2 separate regions of the Homo sapiens genome follow, and region 2 is linked to region 1. Evidence: promoter capture Hi-C in 16 types of primary human blood cells and fetal thymus (Javierre and others, 2016). All regions are on one chromosome and are shown on one strand. The core of a region is centred on a gene start or on the middle of the fragment in contact, and the rest is flanking DNA. Distances in the headings are between cores, read along the strand shown.

The links. The method cuts DNA at HindIII sites, captures the fragments that hold promoters and counts their contacts. A CHiCAGO score of 5 or more calls a contact.
Region 2: a contact is called between a fragment that was not itself captured here and the fragment with the promoter of POP5 in region 1, in 6 of 17 cell types (M0 macrophages, M2 macrophages, total B cells and 3 more). The highest score is 7.8, in M0 macrophages.

The regions. Positions count from the first base shown.
Region 1 is chr12:120,577,846-120,585,161 of GRCh38, forward strand. POP5 (POP5 ribonuclease P/MRP subunit) reads right to left here and starts at 3,557. Exons shown (of 5, transcript NM_015918.4): 1 at 3,498-3,557; 2 at 3,270-3,412; 3 at 1,929-2,078; 4 at 1,669-1,752; 5 at 919-1,567. The coding sequence starts at 3,517. The coding sequence ends at 1,473. RefSeq lists silencers at 6,620-6,989, 7,020-7,089. The HindIII fragment of the contact is 2,825 bases long and covers 759-3,583 here.
Region 2 is chr12:120,955,495-120,962,810 of GRCh38, forward strand. No RefSeq gene overlaps it. Among named protein-coding and RNA genes, the nearest start is that of HNF1A-AS1, 13 kb to the right of the region's middle. The HindIII fragment of the contact is 7,737 bases long and covers 1-7,316 here.

The DNA.
Region 1 (7,316 bases), core at 2,307-4,806:
ATGTGTATGGTACTTTCAGTCTCATCCATTGTATTATGGAGAAAACAGATCCCAGAAATGTCAGTAGGTAGCAGATCAAACCTGGATCACAAGTCTCCCGCCATTCCTACTTCCTGTGAGTATGGCAGTCTGACTTGTCTTCAGGGCGCCTTGTATTCAGGCGCAATAAGAGCGGAACTACAAAAACTACCTTAAGTTCCTTAAGTGGACAGCTGCTACATGACCATGCAGTAATGATGTCAGATGAGGCCAGCACCCGCGCCCCCCCCAACTGCAAAGGTTGCATTTTTTGTTTGAGACAGAGTCTCGCTCTAGCCCAGGCTGCAGTACAGTAGTGGGATCTCAGCTCACTGCAAGCTCTGCCTCCCGGGTTCACGCCATTCTCCTGCCTCAGCCTCCTGAGTACCTGAGATTACAGGCACCCACCACCATGCCCAGCTAATTTTTTGTATTTTTAGTGGAGACAGGGTTTCACTGCGTTAGACGGGATGGTCTTGATCTCCTGACCTTGTGATCTGGCCGCCTCAGCCTCCCAAAGTGCTGGGATTACAGGTGTGAGCCACTGCGCCCGGCCCAAAGTTGTATTTTTTAAGTTACCTGATTAACTATTGGCAAGGAATCTGGTATCTGTAAGACCCTGTGGTTCAGTACTGAGATGGGCTGTAGATCTCTGCCAGTTCAGTTGCTGTGTCTCAACTAATATTTCTATTCCAAATGACTTGGCTTGCTTAGGGCCCATCATGGGGCCGGGGGTACAAAGCTTCAGGTAGAAGGCTAAGTATTGAAAATTTAGGCCAGGCACAGTGGCTCACCCTTTAATCCCAGCACTTTTGGAGGCCAAGGTAGGCCGATCACTTGAGGCCAGGAGTTCAACAGCAGCCTGGCCAACATGGCAAAACCCCGTCTCTACTAAAAATACAAAAATTAGCCAGACGTGGTGGTGCACGTCTGTAATCCCAGTTACTTGGAAGGCTGAGGTGGGAGAATTGCTTGAACCCAGGAGGCGGAGGTTGCAGTGAGCCGATACTGGGCCACTACACTCCAGCCTGGGTGATAGACTGAGACTGTCTCAAAAAAAAAAGTTTAACTAGTACCACATAGGGAGTCAGTCTTCCCACCAAGGCTAGGGATAGAGAGAGAACAGAGACTTGGCCAAGCATGGACTCCATAAGCCCTTTCTGTAATATAAGTATGCTAAATGCCACGGAAACCAGATACATTTATTAAATCTACTCTTAGCCAAGCAATAAAGATGTCTACAGAGTTCACAACCTGCAACACTTCACCAGGGAATGCTAGGTAAAGGCAACTTCAGTTTAACTGAGTACTCCATTTCAAGTGGGTAATGTCTGCTGGTTGGCAGCTATCCAGTTTGGAAAACTGTGGAAGATGCTGTTGCTACCCAGATTGTTCTGTTCAACAAGTGGGCCTGAAGCCTGAGCAGTGTAGCCAGCTGTGTGGGGAGCAGAGGTTCACTCCATTGCTTCTGCAGCCTCCTCACCTGACTCCTCCTCCTCCTCTAATAAGCAGCTTCTTGTCACAGACTTCTGGATAGCTTCCCGCTCTCCTGGAGAAGGCAGATAACAGGGATGAAAGATATCTTTGGGAGTGATTTCTTCAGCTTAAGGTCAGTCACTGCTCAGTGGGCACTGGGCTAGTGTTGCTTACCTTCATCAGTGCAGTTCTGCAACAAGATCAACAGCTGTCTCCTGTTGTACTGAATTAGGAACTTCTGACATGTTCTTATTGTACCTGGCATATGAGTTACTGTGGTCAACAGCTTGTGAAAGATCTCGACCTTACAGACTTTCAGAGGTAGGGGGAAGTGTCTTGTTAGCGGGACAGCAGCAAGACCCACCCACCAGTTTAGACTGAACTGTGAACGTGTCACCAATTGAAAATCAGTAGCCATACCACCTCACTCCTACCTCCCACATGTAATGTGTTGAAAAAGCATGGGTAACGGTGTCCTTTGTTCTCCAAGTATGTGATGAAGGGAAGAGCTGACCACACAAGCTGATAGAATTCTTTTCTGCATCGAAGTAGCACTATTCCAGTATAGGCATTGAGATATCGAACTACAACAGGAAAGAAAAATCATTTTGGAAAACTTTTGCTCTGTGTGGTGGCTCACGCCTGTAATCCCAGCACTTTGGGAGGCTGAGGCGGGCAGATCACTTTAAGTCAGGAGTTCGAGGCCAGCCTGGCCAACATGATGAAACCCCGTCTCTACTAAAAATACAAAAATTAGCTGGGTGTGGTGGTGCGCACCTGTAATTCCAGCCACTCAGGAGGCTGAGGCATGAGAATCGCCTGAACCCAGGAGGCAGAGGCAGCAATGACCCCCGATCTCGCTGCTGCACTCCAGCAGCCTGGGCAACAGCCAGACTGTCTCGAAAAAAGGAAAACTTTGGAGTAACAGAGCCTACTATGTGCCAAAAGTATGTTGTAGGCAAGTGGCACGTAGATCTATCAGCGAGTAAAAGAGAAAAGCCAAAACACCCACTGTGTTGCACACCACTCAGAACTGGTGAATGAATTTAGAATTGAAAATGCTTTCTAATTCACTAGTTAATTCAATAAATAGGAGCAGGTAGGAGGCGATCCGTTTTAATTTAGGAAAAACCCCCACAAAACCCTTGCCTGAAAAACAGGCTGTTTTACTGCATTTGGGCTCCGTAATTATTGTAGCAGTCAGCTCTCAGTCTCACCTGACTTAGGAGAGTTAAGTCTATCTGCATTTAACTCTCCAGAAGTCAATCTCAAACAAGGTTAAAGTGGGAACTAATTTAAGTGGTGTGAAAGAAGGGCCCCTCTGTCCTAGCTCATCCTGTATTTACATATATTGACAATCATGTGTTCTGTACTTTACCAACTATTTAAGGGCTTTCCCGGAGTACTTTTGACAATTTTTTTCCATATGATGTTAATGTAATCGGTCATATAATAGCTCTTACTAGGAAGTATACACAGCTTCCCTCATTTAATTCTCTACCCTATCAAATTCAATCACAACCAATTACAGAAATTACCTGTCAAGCAGGTAAAAAGAGGCTTCTAGCTCAAAGCCCCACTGCCTTCGGGCCCCTCCTTTTAGCGCTCTGCTAATTTCGGACTCTCGCTTGGGGTCCCAGGCGCTTAAAGAGATACCTTACAAAAAACGGTGCACGGGCTTGGCCACTCGTGCCCCTTCTTTCTTCCTCCGGCGCCTGCCCCCTCCACATCCCGCCATCCTCCCGGGTTCCCCTCTTCCCCCAGCGCCCTTGCACCCGCGAAGCCGATGGAGCAGGCGGCTGCGCCGAAAGTTCCGTGCACCCTGGCGATCGTGTCCCGTACGAGGCTGCTCAGAACTCGGTCATCGAGGCTTAGGCGGCAGCGGGGGTCGTCAGACACCAGTTCGCAGAGCAGGTACCTGCGGCAGGCGAGAGGAAGGTGGACACTAGCGGGGCCGCGAGGACCCAGCAAGGCACTGGGAGGGTCTGGAAGGGAATGCTTACCTGTGCTTGAACCGCACCATGGCTGCCTCCGCGCTCTCCGGTCCGGCGTGCAAACCGGATGTGAATTCTGTCCGCTGCCAATGGGAAGCTTGCTTCCGCAGCCTTTCAGCCATTCAGAGAAGGAGACAGGATATTAGGGCGGAGCTAGAAAGTTGAGAGGCCGAAGTCTGTCAGCTCTCTCAAGCCCCGCCCAACTGCGTTTGTAAGCGCGCATGCGTCCTGCGGAGGGTCACTGACTAGTTTGAGGGCTGAACCCCGGGATGGAGCGCCTTGCAGCTGTAATGGATGGTTCTGTTGCACACTGAAGTTTACAATAGTGTGTAGGATGTAGCCGCTACCCTTGGGGCCCTGGGAACCTTGCACCACAGTTATGTATGCGAGTATATTCTCTCCCCAAGGTGAACGGTGGAGCTTTTGAGGGCAAGACCCTGCACCTCACAGCCCAGGCATTGACAAACGGGAAATCGGACTTTTATTTTCAGGTTTGAGCTCAGTTTAATTCTTCCATACAGCTAAATATGCTATTGCTGTTTGGGCCTTTCAGCAATCTTAGGGAGGCGAGTGTGCCGTCTCGTTTTTTGCTCGCAGAAACAATACGTGGTCATTGTATTTTCCATTTCCGTTTACCTTTTTTTTTTGACAGAAAAGCACAAAGAAGCAAATAAATTATAATCCCAGCACTGAGAGAGAATAACTGTTGTCGTGTAGTGTGTTTTCTTCTGTCATTTTCTCCCTGCGCCAGTGGTTCTCAAAGTGCCGTCTGGGGACCACTGAGATTTCCTAAATTCACTCGATTTGGGAGTCCCCGAAGTCAAAATTACTTTCATAATAATGCTAAGATGTTACTTGTCTTTTTCATTCTCTCTGAGTGAACAGTCAAGTTTTCCAGAGGCTGCTTGACGTGATGACGTCACTGCTCTAGGAATTGTGTATTGTTTTTTAAACGTTTCTCAACTTTAATGTCCATAGTAAATATAACCCACAAAACTAAAAGCTCTTGGGCACCCTCAGTAACGTGTGTAAAGGGGTCCTGAGACAGAGAAAACAGCTTGAGAACTATGCCCTCTGTTAAATTATGTTTTTTCTTTTATTTTTAAGTATTTTAAAAAAAATGTCTTATGGGGTATTACATAAAGTACATATTCTTAAGTGTATTCATCTCAATGAATTTTTACATATGGATAGACTTCTATAACCACCTCCAAGATTAAAATAAAGAGCATTTCCAGTATCCCAGAAGGTTCCCTGAGCCCTCTTCCAGTCAAATTGCTTACTGCTATCAGCCACTATTACCACTTCTACCCTGCTAGATTAATTTTGCCTGTTCTTAAACTTTATATAAATGCAGCCAGGAGGCTGGCTGCAACCTCTGCCTCCTGAGTTCAAGCGATTCTCCTGCCTCAGCCTCCCGAGTAGCTGGGATTACAGGCACCTGCCACCACGACCAGCTAATTTTTGTATTTATTTATTTAGTTTTTTGAGACGGAGTCTCACTCTGTTGCCCAAGCTGGAGCACGATCTCAGCTCACTGCAACCTCTGCCTCCTGGATTCAGGCGATTCTCCTGCCTCAGCCTCCCAAGTAGCTGGGACTACAGGTGTGTGCCACCACAACTGGCTAATTTTTGTATTTTTAGTAGGGACAGGGTTTCCCCATGTTGGCCAGGCTGGTCTTGAACTCCTGACCTCAGGTGATCCACCCACCTCGGCCTCCCAAAGTGCTGGGATTACAGGCGTGAGCTACCACGCCTGGCCATTTGGCTATATTTTCATGTCAGCTCTTCAGCGACAATACTGTTTTTTAGCTGTGCAGTATTGCATTGTTTGGACGTACCATTGTGAAGTTGGTCAGTATCCCTTTGGTAGACGTTTACATTATTTCTAGATTTTCTTGTTATACCCAATACTTTGATGCATGGCTTTGTAGCTTAGTCTTTATGCCCATCCCTGATTATTTGTAGAAGTGTCTTGGCCTTGGCTGGTCCTGTGAGGTCCGTAATGGGGGCAGCTTTCACAACCTATTTTTGCAAGATCTGGAATGAGTTCTGAATTTTCCCATCTCCCACTCTTCTTGGCCACCTTAAAGGAGGGATGTGGGGGAAGGTAGGGAAGAAAAGAATAGGAAGAGGGAACGCCGTGGCCCTGCCAAGGGACCAGTGACAGTGACGGCACTCCCCACCCAAGAACAACTTTTCACCAGAAAGTGTCTGCGACATCCTCCTTTGGCCAACAGGGGGCGCCAGAGGTCCGCAGTGCGCGGAGAGAGCAAGACACCCCCAACTCCTGAGCGCTCCACCCCTCATAGAAATTTCACTCCTCCCAGCCTTCATTTCAACAGCAATGCTTCGCCCATTTTATAGATGCAGTTGGGGCTCAGACCAAAGCCTCGTATCCAGTTAGGAGCAGGATCAGAATTCGAACCCAAAGCCAGCTGACTCCTTGTTCTGGTCAACACGGTTGGTGCTCTCCCGTGCAGGATTTCACTCGTCCATTTAGTGTAATAAGATGGAGAGACGACAGATGGAGGTTCGATTCGCTACTCCGTCATTTACTGGCCCGGCCAGGTGCTGTCAGGAGGGTTAATTCATGTCTCAGATCTTAGTTTCCTCATCTGTGCAATGGGATAACAATGGTTCCTCCCTCGTGGGTGGATATGAAGTTTAAGCGGGGTCATGTGGACAAAATGCCTGGCACAGCGAGTGCATAGTAAGCCCTTTTTTTGTTTTTGTTTTTTTTGTTTTGTTTGTTTTTTGAGACTGATTTTTAAGACTGTCTTAAAAACAAGAAAAGAAAAAAGAAAATATAGCCAAACAACAGGAATTTTTTGAGACAGTTTTTTGCTCTGTCGCCCAGGCTGGAGTGCAGTGACGCCATGTCGGCTCACTGCAGCCTCTGCCTCCCGGGTTCAAGCAATTCTCCTGCCTCAGCCTCCAGAGTAGCTGGGATTAAGGCGCCTGCCACGACGCCCGGCTAATTTTGTATTTTTAGTAGAGATTTCACCATGTTGGACAGGCTGGTCTCAAACTCCTGACTTCAAGTGATCCGCCCGCCTCGGCCTCCCAAAGTGTTGGGATTACAGGCGTGTGCCACCGCCCTCGGCAAGTAAACGCTGTTCTGAACAAATGATTTACTTTTCCCCCACAGGCACAGCCCCGGGAGGAAGCACATTGGCACGGCCCGCGGCCTCCCAGTCTTGGACCAGGCCCGGCCCCTTCTGGCCCAGGAGGGTGCAGACGCCGGCGGTGGCCGGGCGGGCGGGCTCCCCGCGGTAATTAGCGCGCGCCGGCTCGGGCTGCGCCAGCCGCTAATTATAAGTCTCCTAATGAGGCCGGCGGCTGTTTGCAATCACCCGGGTCCCCGCTGCGCGGCGCGGGAGGCTGCGGGGGAATCCGCCCGCGGAGGCATGGAGGAGGAGCGGCCGTCTTCCCCGGGGCCCGGAGATCCGCTGGACGGCGACGGGGTGTGCCCCGGCCGTGCCCGCCGCCGGAATGCCGGCCGCGAAGGGGCAGCGGCGGGGGCTCACACCCCAACCCCTCCTCGGTTCTCTCCCCAGCCGGGCCGCAGAGCCATTATCCTCCCCAGGTGAGGAAGCCGATGAGGCTCTGAGAGGTGAGCTCACCCAGGTGCGACATCACAACTCACCCAGGTGCACAATAGAGCCCAATCCACGTCTGTCTGACCCCAGCCTGTGCCCTTAGCCGAGTCAGGTATCCCCTGGATCAATGGGGTGGTCACTGTTGTCATTACTGTTAGCATTATTACAGTCGTCCTGGGACTTCTCAGATTCCTTTTTTTTTTTTTTTTTTTTTTTTTGAGATGGA
Region 2 (7,316 bases), core at 2,268-4,767, 380 kb after region 1:
CTGAGTGAGTGGTGGCAGCCACTTTGTGACCATGAGGGGAATCAGCCTTCACAGAAGCTGATGCTGTAGACTGAGAAAACCTAGACTCCTAATAACATATACCATCAAGCCCACCCAACTTTGGGATTTTTTTTTTTTTTTAATTCTGGGGAAACTTTTATTTTTATTTCTAGACCAATTGACTATGGGATAGGAAAGAAAGTGAGGTGTCAAGGATAAAGCCAATATTTGACTCAAACAATGTAGAGGATGTTTGTTTTTAGCTTACTTGAGGAAGGCTGTGGTCGGGGAGAAGATTGAGAATTCTTTTTTTTTTTTGAGACAGGGTCTCACTCTGTTGCCCAGGCTGGAGTGCAGTGGTGCCATCCTAGCTCACTGCAGCCTCGACCTCCCAAACTCAAACAATCCTCCCACTTCAGCCTCCTGAGTAGCCAGGATTATAGGCAGATGCCACCATGCCTGGCTAATTTTTTCATTTCCAGTAGAAATGAGATCTCACTATGTTGCCTGGGCTAGTCTCAAATTGGGCTCAAATGATCCTCCCACCTTAGCCTCCCAAAGTGCTGGGATTATAGGCGTGAGCCACTGCACCTGGCCAAAGATTAATTCTGATCAATGCTAAGGACTTTCCACTCTTTACAACTTTAACTTTGTTTTGGTTGTTTCAAGAGCTACATTTGATTCGATTCGTTTTGTTTTGAGATGGAGTCTCACTCTGTCGCCCAGGCTGGAGTGCAGCGGTGCAATCCCACTGCAACCTCTGACCCCCGAGTTCAAGGGATTCTCCTGCCTCAGCCTCCTGAGTAGCTGGGACTACAGGCACCCACCACCACGCCTGGCTAATTTTTGTATTTTTAGTAGAGATGGGGTTTCACCATGTTCGCCAGGCTGGTCTCAAACTCCTGAACTCAGGTGATCTGTCCACCTCGGCCTCCCAAAGTGCTAGGATTACAGGCATGTGCCACCGCACCTGGCCTAAGAGCTACATTTTTTATCGCAGTCTCAGCCTTTTCATTTCCCCATATCCCACTCATTCCTATAAGGGCCAAATGCAATAAAACAGATGTGTATGTGCACTCACGCTGTGGAGTGAAGATGCAAATGACTGTGATGATCCAAACCCTGGCAGGAAGGTGGCAGCCCCGTAGGGCATGGGGATCAGAGGTAACTCCACTGTGTGTGCCTTCCGCTGTGTGTGCCCTCCACTGTGTGTGCCCTCCGCTGTGTGTGCCCTCCACTGTGTGTGCCCTCCACTGTGTCTGTCCTCCGCTGTGTGTGCCCTCCACTGTGTGTGCCCTCTGCTCCGCTGTGTCCACAGTGACAGCATAGATTATCCCAGGGCTCAATCAGTTGTTCCAGCTAACTTCCTGCTAAACAGAGCTGGTCACCAGGAGCCAGGCTGACACCTTTGAACCCCTTCTTCCCCTCTGCCTCCTTTCTCAGAAAATATAAAGTGCAAAATGGTCCAGAGGTGGACAGTGTGGGGAGGGAGGGGACATTGAGTCTTGATGACCTGCAAATTTACACCAGTTTCTGCATAATCCTATATGGGCTTTATCTGATCTTAGAGGCACCCATCCCTTTGCAATAAAAGATTGCATCTGTTTTTATTTCCCCTTTCTGTTGGAAGCTGATAAGCCAAGAATGTACTCTCCCCACCTGCTCTCAGCTTTGATTCCCATTAACACAGGGGCATTCCCAGGAAAGGGTTGGGCTCCCCAAGGTGTTTGCTGGAGAACCTGCTGTCACTCTGCAGAGATGTACAAGTATTTACTGAAAGAAGAACTTCTCCAGGAATATTGTGTAAGCAGATTACACCGGATCTCCCTGCCCTTGGACAAATATATATGGTGAAGCTCAAAGAGGGGAATCCAATGCACAGAAACCTCCATGCTTAAAAAATATCTTGTGGCCGGGCACGGTGGCTCACGCCTGTAATGCCAGCACTTTGGGAGGCTGAGATGGGAGGATCACTTGAGCCCAGGAGTTCGAAACCAGCCTGGGCAACATAGGGAGACCCCCATCTCTACAAAAAATGAAAAAAGTTAGCCAGGCATGGTGGTGCACACCTGTAGTCCCAGCTACTAGGGAGGCTGAGGTGGGAGGATCACTTGAGCCTGGGAGTTTGAGGCTGCAGTGAGATATGATCATGTCACTGCACTCCTGCCCGGGCGACAGAGTGAGACTCTGTCTCAAAAAACAAACAAAAAACCAAACCAAAACAAAACAGAACTTGTGAATTGGTTTGGGGATTGCTGGTAAGAGACAAAGGGATGATCATCAAGTCTGGGGATGCCCATCCATTGCCACATCCCCAAGGGGATCACACCAGCTGGAGCACATCACTGCACGTCGCATTTTTGTTTTGTTTTGTTTTGAGACGGAGTCTCACTCTGTCTCCCAGGCTGGAGTGCAGTGGCGCCATCTCAGCTCATTGCAACCTCCACCTCCCGGGTTCAAGCAATTCTCCTGTCTCAGTCTCCCGAGTAGCTGGGATTACAGGCATGCGCCACCACACCCTGCTAAATTTTTTTGGAATTTTTAGTAGAGACAGAGTTTCACCATATTGGCCAGGCTGGTCTTGAACTCCTGGCCTCAGGTGATCCTCCCACCTCAGCCTCCCAACGTGCTGGGATTACAGGCGTGAGCACTGCACCCGGCCCTTTTTTTTTTTTTTGAGATGGAGTCTCACGCTGTTGCCCAGGCTGGAGTGCACTGGTGTGATCTCGGCTCACTGCAACCTCTGCCTCCTGGGTTCAAGTGATTCTCCTGCCTCAGCCTCCTGAGTAGCTAGGATTACAGGCACATGCCACCACGCCTGGCTACTTTTTGCATTTTGAGGCAGGGTTTCACCATGTTGGCCAGGCTGGTCTTGAACTCCTGACCTTAAGGCCCGCCTCAGCCTCCCAAAGTGCTGGGATTACAGGCGTGAGCCACCGCGCCCCGCCTTGCACATTGCATTTCTAGAGACTAGAGGCCTCAAATTAAGGTGTCGGTAAGGCTTGGCCCCCTCTCAAACTTGGGGGAGAGGGGAGATTCCACTCTTGCCCTTTCCAACGTCTCACGTCTCTGGTAATCCTTGGCAATCTTTGGCTTGCTGCTGCAGCACTCCACGGTGTACCTCTATTGTCCTAAGGTGTTCTCTGTGTGTGTGTCCAACTTTGGATTTTTGTTTTTATTAATTTTCTTTTCTTTTTTTCTTTTTTTTTTTTTTGACGAAGTTTCACTCTTGTTGCCCAGGCTGGAGTACAATGGCATGATCTCGGCTCACCACAACCTCCACCTCCCGGGTTCAAGCAATTCTCCTGCCTCAGCCTCCCAAGTAGCTGGGATTACAGGCATGTGCCATCATGCCCAGCTACTTTTTTTGTATTTTTAGCAGAGACAGGGTTTCTCCATGTTGATCAGGCTGTTCTTGAACTCCCGATCTCAGGTGATCCACCTGTCTCGGCCTCCCAAAGTGCTGGGCTTACAGGTGTGAGCCACCGGGCCCGCTGTTTTCATTAATTTTCATTTGAAGACATCCTGATACCTAGTCAAAGCCTCATGACTTTGGGGGCTGAGAGGACAGGGTGGTGGTGGATGTATAGTTGGCGGGGTGTGGTGGTGCACACCTGTAGTCCCAGCTACAGGAGGATTGCTTGAGCCCAGGAGGTCGAGGCTGCAGCAAGCCATGAGTGTGTCACTGTACTCCAGCCTGGGCGACAGAATGAAACCCTGTCTCTTAAAAAAAAAAAAAGAAAAAAAAAGGATGTACAGTAGGAGGATTATCTTTGCCTTCAGTTGCTGGGAGGTGATCTCTAGGCCCCTTAACGTCCTGTCTGATGGAAGTGTCTGTGTTTGCCTGGGGCCTTTGGCCACCAGATAGTCTAACAATGTGATCTGTAATGAAGGCTTTGGAACATCCTGTATCAGTTCCAACCTCCAGATGAGCTGGATACACAAGAGTTAGCTCAGGAGAGACTGGAGATGAAAGGTCAGCCACACTGGCAGTAAGGGATCAAGCCCCACTAAAAAACGCTGGACACTGGCTGGCAGTGGCTCATGCCTGTAATCCCAGCACTTCAGGAGGCTGAGGGGGGCGGGTCACCAGATGTCAGGAGTTTGAGATCAGCCTGGCCAACATGGTGAAACCCTGTCTCTACTAAAAATACAAAATCAGCTGGGCATGGTGCATGCCTGTAATCCCAGCTACTCGTACTCTGGAGGCTGAGGCGGGAGAATCGCTTGAACCCAGGAGGTGGAGGTTGCAGTGAACTGAGATCACGCAACAGCACTCCAGCCTGGGCGACGAGAGCGAGACTCCATCTCAGAAACAACAACAACAAAAACAAAACCCCCAAAAACGCTGGACACCAAAGCCTCAGGAGCTTCTCTGGTTAGCAGTATTCTCTGAGTGTCATCACGCATCATAGCTGGGGGGAGGTGACTGTCTGGAGAGAAGGTAACTAGGAGCTTTGCACTTGAACCCCTTCCGCACCTCACCCTCTATGTCCTTTCTTGTGGCTGGTTCTGATCTGTGTCTGTTTGCTATCATAAAAACTGTCGTTATGAGGCGGGGCACTTTCCTGAGTTCCATGAGTCATTCTAGTGAATTATTGAACCACAGGGGGTAGTGGGAACCCTCAATGCAGCCAAGCGGTCAGAAGTGAGGGTGGCCCAGGAATCCCCAGTTGCACCTGGCATTTGAAGTGAAGGCTGCCTTGTGGAGGGACTGTGTCCTTAGCCTTGAGCTTGACAAATTCATTGCAGTAGGTTCTGTCATCTGCCTCTTAGAGAATACCCTCATTTCAACTGGGCGCGGTGGCTCACGCCTGTAATCCCAGCACTTTGGGAGGCCGAGGCGGGCGGATCACGAGGTCAGGAGATCGAGACCATCCTGGCTAACACGGTGAAACCCCGTCTCTACTAAAAATGCAAAAAATTAGCTGGGCGTGGTGGCGGGCGCCTGTAGTCCCAGCTACTCAGGAGGCTGAGGCAGGAGAATGGCGTGAACCCGGGAGGTGGAGCTTGCAGTGAGCCGAGATCGCGCCACTGCACTCCAGCCTGGGCGATAGAGCGAGACTCCATCTCAGAAAAAAAAAAAAAAAAGAGAATACCCTCATTTCCTTGCAATTTGGGACAGGTGTTAGGAGCCTCATTTTATTCTTCTGAAATCAAATTATCCCTGATTCAGACTTCAGGTAAGGTGGCATTCAAATGCAGTCGTGACTCAGGGCTTACTATTTCTATTCTTCTAAAAAGACTATGGGATTCTCATGTAGGTGGAAATGCTTGAGTGGGCGCCTCTGGCCTTTGGTCTACACGCACTAGCCTGATACACGTCTCCTCCACCAGGCTGTAAACCTCGTGAAGTATCGGTTTTATTCCTGACTAGAACAAGGCTTAGCACCTAGTGGGTGCTCATTAAACACATGAAGCATGAATCAGTGAGGGATTTCACATCTCGTCATCTCTGAAAAGCCTGTTAGCTCACTTCTAGGACCAGGAAACTGGCATTATCAAGAGTGTTATTCCAGCTTTGGTTGGTTCTGAAAATAATAATAATGTATCAGTCCAGTATTAGGTTTAGCTGTATAGAACAGAAAACCCAAAGTGAAATGGCATAAACATGTAAGAGTTGATTCCTTCCAGAAGCAGGCAGTCTAGGACTGGTGTGGGCCTCCCCTGAAGGCTGGCAAGACCACTATTTCTGTGCCAACCTTTGGCGCAGGGGTCTTTATTCAGATTGGCTACTCCATACCCAGGATCCAGCCTCCCCAAGTTTTGCCTAGGTCACCAATCCTCAGGATCCCCCAAATCATATCTCCAGTCTTGGGGCATCTCCAACGTCCCATGAATCATCACCCATCTCTGTAAAAATAAAAAAGTCCCAGGCTGGGTGCGGTGGCTCATGCCTGTAATCCCAGCACTTTGGGAGGCTGGGACAGGTGGATCACCTGAGGTCAGGAGTTGGAGAACAGCTTAGCCAACATGGCAAAACCTTGTCTTTATTAAAAATACAAAAATTAGCCGGGTGTGGTGGCAGGCGCCTGTAATCCTAACTACTCGGGAGGCTGAGGCAGGAGAATAGCTTGAACCTGGGAGGTGGACGTTGCAGTGAGCTGAGATCACGCCACTGCACTCCAGCCAGGGCGACAGAGCGAGACTCCGTCTCAAAAAAATAAAAGTAAAAAAATTTTTAAAAAGTCCTAGAGTACACAGTTCCTGAGTCTGCTGACTGTCTAAAGATGTTCTTCTCTGATTTCTGCTGACTGCAGAGAAGAACAGGGGACTTTGGTCTCGTTCGTTGACTCCTCAGCAGGGAGGAAGGGGGCGTGGTCTCTGGTTCTCCAAGGCATTGGCTGGAACAACAGGAGTTTCCATGCCAGGCTGTAGCTGGTTTTCTCTCAACATATTTAAAATTAAACGTGTTTCAAACCATAAAGTTCAATTTCCTTCTGAAAACATTCTCCTCTATCTTCTGAATAGGAAACTGATATTCCTGTGAGTTACAGCACTTTGATTTAATGTTATGAATCCTGATCTTATTATGCTAAGAGGACACTGCTCCCTCCCTGCTCAGAGTCATATGACAAAGACTTCGCATGTCAGTACCCGCAGTGAAGGGGGCCAGGCCCAACTGGCTCCTGTACATGCGTGCGTGCGTGTGTGTGTGTGTCCCTGGCTACAGAAGGGGCAGAGGGCAATCTTGGGGGCAGAGGGCAATCTTGTTTGACCGGGCCACATTTATTAAGTACTTAGGACTGTGTCTAGCACATAATAAGTGCTCAATAAACGGAGATGCCATGATCATTTGTAGCTAGTTACATACCCAATATCCATTCTTCCTATTTTTTTCCTTAATAACAGATTCAGATCGTGCTGCCTGGAATGAAGACATTTCCCAGTCTCTCTTGCATTTTGGTGTGGCCCCGTGACTACACTATGTTCCATGGACTGTAGTAGGTAAAAGTGTATGAGGCTTCCAGGAGCCTCAGCCTTGAGGTTCACTGCTTTTGTCCTCTATTCTACCTGGTATTTGGATATAATGGCTAGAGTCCAGCAGCCATCTTGGACCATGAGGTAACCCTGAGTACAGAAGCCACCCACTGAAGATGGTAGGGCAGGAAGGTCAAAGCTCTGGTGACACTGTGGAGCCCCCACACTAGTCCTGGACTGCCAGCTTCTGGAAAGAATCAACTCCTACATGTTTATGACATTTCACTTTGCAGTGGCATCCTTGATAATGTCAGGAGTTTCCTGGTCCTGGAAGTGATCAAACAGGCTTTTTAGAGATGATGAGACATGAAATCACTCGCTGATTCATTCTTCAT